2 separate regions of the Homo sapiens genome follow, and region 2 is linked to region 1. Evidence: promoter capture Hi-C in 16 types of primary human blood cells and fetal thymus (Javierre and others, 2016). All regions are on one chromosome and are shown on one strand. The core of a region is centred on a gene start or on the middle of the fragment in contact, and the rest is flanking DNA. Distances in the headings are between cores, read along the strand shown. Region 1 holds the start of DNAAF11 (dynein axonemal assembly factor 11). Region 2 overlaps ZFAT (zinc finger and AT-hook domain containing).

Region 1 (2,700 bases), core at 67-2,566:
AAGAAGAAAAAAACCAACTAGGGTGAGACCAGGGGATGGGGAGACAGCCCTGAGAAGAGAGGAAGAAATATCAGTAGCTGATTTAGGAAAGGAGTTTCAACATTTACAAATCACTCCCCCCCGACCCCCACCTCTCCCACTTGCAGGCTGTCAGGTCTTCCAGGGCAGAAAGCCCATCATCTGGAGCAGTCTCTTGATTTAAAAAAAGTTAATTATGACATTTTTACAATGATAAGTGATCAATTAGGTAGAGCTGTACAAAACTGCCATATGGGGAGCTCAAAAACGTTGTCGATATCAAAATGGTTCATACAATATAAATAACTTACCCGCATCACCTTGCAGTTTGTTAGTATATTCTTAAAGAAACACGTTTACTACCGGGCGCAGTGGCTCACGCCTGTAATCGCAGCACTTTGAGAGGCCGAGGCGGGCGGATCACCTGAGGTCAGGAGTTCGAGACCAGCCTGGCCAACATGGCAAAACCCCGTCTCTACTAAGAATACAAAAATTAGCCTGGCGTGGTGGTGCACGCTGTAATCCCAGCTACTCAGGTGGCTGAGGCAGGAGAATTGCTTGAACCCGGGAGGCGGAGGCTGCAGTGGGCCGAGATCGCGCCGCTGCACTCCAGCCTGGGCGACAGAGCAAAACTCTTGTCTCAAACAAACAAACAAAAACACGTTTATAACACTTACTGTGTCTAAAACAGTAGTATGATTGCCATTATTTTGGAGATGAAGAAGCTGAGGCCCAAGGGGTGAAGTCACTCGCTCAAAGTCACAGGAAGAGGGAGGACTTCAACCCTGGCTCCAGAGTCGGAACCCTCCACCATTAGGCTACACTGCCTTCCGGAATGAGTCCGAAGATTGCGGCTTGGAGACAGTGACTGGCCCACGTTCACAGCCAGTAAGGAGCCACTTGGCCGGAACGTGGTGTGTCTGGCGCCAAAACCCCTGCACGTTCCCCGACCCCTTTCCTGGAGTCCAGTGCCTTTCTGCCTCTTCCTCCCCTTCCCACGGCCCCGCCCATTTTACAGATTAGGAACCTGAGCTGGAAAAGGCCAGGCTGTCCGGCCAGTCTGCAGAGGACCTGGTGCAGCCGGGGCTGCGGTGCGGAGGGCCGGGTGGGGTTAGGGTCCGCCCAGGCGCGGGGGAACCGACAGCGCAGGGCGGGAGCGGGCGGCGAGGATCCCACGAGACCCGGGACTACTTCCACAAGGGGAACGATCGAGGACGGAAGGTGGAGGGGGGCTTACTCCAGCCCATGGCGCCTCTCCAGTTCGCTGACCCCGCAAGCCGGACCCGGACCTCGAATGACGCTTTTCACCCTTCACCCCTGCTCCTCAGCGCGTCCCCGTCGGAATTCAGGAGCCATGGCAACGGGGACTCTACGGCGGCCGCGCGGGACCAAAACAAGCCGCGTTTCCTGAGCTCCGCGGAGCAAGCAGAGGAGACCGCAGTGAAGGGGCTCAGCAGACAGGGGTTCCCCAACCCAAACCCAGTCTTCGTCCTCGTCGCACTTCCGACTTGCCACAGACTGCTTCCCTCTCCCTGAATCAATGGTTTAGAGTGAACAAAGTATGAGGACGCTTCTCTTTTCTGTGCCTTCCAGGCTTGCCTTCCAGACCGCCTTTGACTTTTTCCTTTTTGTGTTTGATTTACAGCTTCCAGAGCCAACAGATCTGGATTTGGCCCCCAACTCTACCAGCGGCGTGACCTTACACTTCCTTCTCCTCAGTTTGCACATCTGTAAGATGAGAAATAACCTAAGAGGATCACTGTGAAGCTTTAATTAGATAATTTGAGTGAATGAAAGACACTATGAAAACAACAGGCTCACTATAAAGATTCGTTGTCGTTGTCATATTCCAGCTTTTTAAAGTCACTCTCCAACACTCGTTTCCGGCTAACAAGCTTTCCAGAAACGCCACCCATTACCCCCTCCATCAATTTCCCTATTCTCCACTCTCTTAATTGTAAAATGTAGGAAGTATATCTCCTACAGCCCCACACTCCCCTCACGTTTCCCCAGACCCTTCTCCAAAAGTGTGCAACGCGCCTTCTCCCATTCTAAACTAGGAAGCACATCAGCAAGCTCATTCACCCTCAGATCTTAGTGTTAGCACTTTAATGCGTTAGCTTCCCAAGAATCTTTAAAAGGTACCATTATTATGAAAGTAATTATTATTCTTTACTCCATTTGCAGAAAAAGGAGGGGGGCAATATGTAAAAGGTAAAACCTTCTCCCATCCCAGTCGTTTTAAACAGTATGGAGTGCGTGCTTCTTATCTTGATGTGTGTATTATGTTTGCATTTTAAAAGAAGATTCCTAGAGCAATGCTGAGTGCAAAGAAATTAATTTTTCTAGCGAATAGCTGTTAAGCATTTACAGCTGGCAATTATTAGAGTTTGCCAGGTAGAGACAAGGTCATGAACTTGGACAGAGAGGCAGGAAAGTCTAACAGAGTGAGGTGATGGGGGGAAGCAGAAACATCAGTTTGGCAATAAAGAGAGCTAGATAGAAGGGATCTTCGAACAGTAAGAATGAGAGATTAGATCGGGGGTAATGGGGGCCTTAAATGCCAGGCCAAAGGAACTGAACTGGAAGAGTGGGATTTCAGGCACTATTTCCCTGAATATTTGGATTTCCAAGGAGGCCTCCCAAAAGGCACTCAAACTATAAACTTACCTGACATCCACT
Region 2 (2,700 bases), core at 170-2,669, 2.0 Mb after region 1:
ACCATGTTCACTGTTGTGCTATTCACAATAGTCAAGTATGGAATCGGCCTCAGTGGCCAACAACACATGAATGATTTTTTTAATGTGGGACATATACACAACGGAATATTATTCAGCTGTAAAAAAGAAATGTTGTCGTTTGTGACAACATGGATGAAACTGGAGAACACTGTCCTAAGTAAAATATGCCAGCACAGAAGGACAAACACTGCATGTTTTCTCTTACATGTGAACTCTAAAACAATGGAGCTCAAAGAAGCAGAGAGTAGAATGGTGGGTACCAGAGCCTGAAGGTGTAGGAAGAAATGATGATCAAAGGCTACAAAGCCTCAATTAGACAAGAGGAATCGTTTTTTTCTTTGAGACATATTGCACAGCATGGTGAATACAGTAATAACGTACATTTCAAATTTGCTAAGAGTAAATTTTAAATGTTTACTTACCACAAAATGATAACTATTTGAGCTGATGGATATGTTAATTAGCTTGATTTAATTATTCCACATTATACTCATAAATCATAACATCACATTATACCCCGTAAAGAAACAAATATGTCGTTACAGTTTTTTTAATTTAAAAAAAGATTATGTTACCCAATTTTAAGTCCGTGTTTTTCTATAAATATGCCAAGCATTATCTTTATAAGTAAACTCAATCATCTATATATTTTGTGTTCCTTGAAAAAAAAGGAGGCAACTTTAAATCTGTAAGATGTTTAAAATGTCTATTTTGTTTTGCTCTGCTTTTTCTTTTCTCTTTTAAAAAAAAATTACTCGGCCAGGCACAGCGGCTCACGTCTGTAATACTGGCACTTTGGGAGGCTGAGGCAGGCGGATCACCTGAGGTCAGGAGTTGGAAACCAGCCTGACCAACATGGTGAAACCCCACCTCTACTAAAAGTACAAAATTAGCGAGGCGTGGTGGCGCATGCTTATAATCCCAGCTACTTGGGAGGCTGAGGCAGGAGAATCGCTTGAGCCCAGAAGGCAGAGGTTGCAGTGAGCCAAGATCACACCATTGTGCTCCAGACTGGGCAAAGAGCAAAACTCCGTGCCAATAAATTAATTTAATTTAATTTTTAAAAATGACTTATTTAAAAAAAATTACTCGGCTGGGCACAGTGACTCAAGCCTATAATCCTAGCATTTCAGGAGGCCGAGGCCAGTGGATCTCTTAGGCTGAGTTCAATACCAGCCTGGTCAACCTGGTGACACCCCATCTCTACAAAAAATACAAAAATTAGCCAGGTGTGGTGGTGCACCCCTGTAGTCCCAGCTATTCAGGAGGCTGATGTGGGAGGGTGGCCTGAGCCTGGGAGTCTCTGCCTTTCCATCCACAAATGCTTTCAAGAAGAGAGTGGATGACAATGTACTGAGCTGTACACTGGGAAGTCTGGTTCTGGGAAGGGAAGAGACAAACCCCATTTCCTGAATGCCATCAGCAGCCACCTGTGGCAGGACTGTGTCTCCTTTGCCGGTGAAGGGACTGGGGTCCCAAGGGTTCTGTGACTTCCCTTAGGTCAGGAATCTGGTGAGAGGCAGATCTCTGGAGCCAGAGCACGTGCTCTTTCTACCCTCCTAAATGTTCCAGCCCTTAAAGTTGATGCCTGCCCTTGAGAAATTGCAAATCAGTGAAACTTTAACAGGGTAAACAGCTGAGAAGAGAGGGAAAACTTAACTCTAGGCTAAATCTCTTTTACGTAATTAAATCAGCCCATCTTGGTGCAGAGTTTTTCAGAGGCTGTATGCTTGAAACTATCTACAAAGGGAAATGCAATTAAGGAGACTTTTTAATATATCTGATTCTTGACTGCCCTTGCTCTAGGCAAGAGCTTAATTCTACTTAACAATAGCTATCTTGCAAAAGTTATGTAAATTGCAAGGTATGGGGAGAAAAGAAACAGGAATCCTTTCACCGGAGGCAAATGAGAAGCCCACTGAGAAGGGAGCACTGCGGTAAGACGGCTCCAATTCACACAATGACCATCTCAGCTCATTTGCCACCTACAGCTGTGCCCTGTAGACCACATGCAACTCCACCTCCTTATCATTCATTGTACTCCCTTTCCTAAATTAACCAAAACAGGAAACTCTTTTCAGAAATTAGCTGACCATGAGTTGACAGTAACACATTTTAAAATATGATCTTTTCTCATTTGGTACAGCTGGAAATTGAAGGAAACTTCAACATATGTCCAGGGTTCTTTTTTAAAACTCTTGGGTAAATTCCAGAAGTGGAGAAGTGGGCAACTCATTCTCTCTATATAAGCAACAACGTGGGAGGAGGAAGGCACCAATCGAAAAGATATTTCACGTTTATCAAAATGGAGTCACTCATGTCAAACTCTAACAAAATGGAGCCAGAGGATAGGAAGGAAGGGCCCTCATGCAAGTATGCCTATGACAGGAACTATGCCAGGAATTCCTTAGAGCCTGTTACTTGCACAGGACACTTGCCTGGTGCACCTGTCTCCAATGGACTAATGCCAGCTCCTGCAATAAACCTCTGAAACCAATGGTCTTTGTTTCAAAACCGCTTAGGTGGACTTCCCTTTTGGGTCTTTAAAAGTTTCCATTTGCCCCAACTTCTTTGGACGTACCTATGATCCAGCATAGCGCATGTATCTAAATTGCAATCCCCTATTATTCCCAAATAAACTACAGTTTCAGGATCCCATATCCAAAATGCTTGGGACCA

The links. Contacts are between HindIII fragments. The CHiCAGO score rates a contact against its expected background, and 5 or more counts as called.
Region 2: a fragment that was not itself captured here is called in contact with the fragment with the promoter of DNAAF11 in region 1 in 1 of 17 cell types (naive CD8 T cells); the score reaches 5.5 in naive CD8 T cells.

The regions. Positions count from the first base shown.
Region 1 is chr8:132,674,229-132,676,928 of GRCh38, forward strand. It overlaps DNAAF11 (dynein axonemal assembly factor 11), which reads right to left and starts at 1,317. Exons shown (of 12, transcript NM_012472.6): 1 at 1,256-1,317. The coding sequence starts at 1,265. It overlaps LOC105375767 (a long non-coding RNA gene), which reads left to right and starts at 1,402. Exons shown (of 2, transcript XR_928665.4): 1 at 1,402-1,577; 2 at 1,664-1,830. The HindIII fragment of the contact is 7,589 bases long and covers 1-1,783 here.
Region 2 is chr8:134,707,893-134,710,592 of GRCh38, forward strand. The region is part of intron 1 of ZFAT (zinc finger and AT-hook domain containing); the gene reads right to left. Among named protein-coding and RNA genes, the nearest start is that of ZFAT, 3.8 kb to the right of the region's middle. RefSeq lists an enhancer at 1,536-2,219. The HindIII fragment of the contact is 6,003 bases long and covers 1-2,700 here.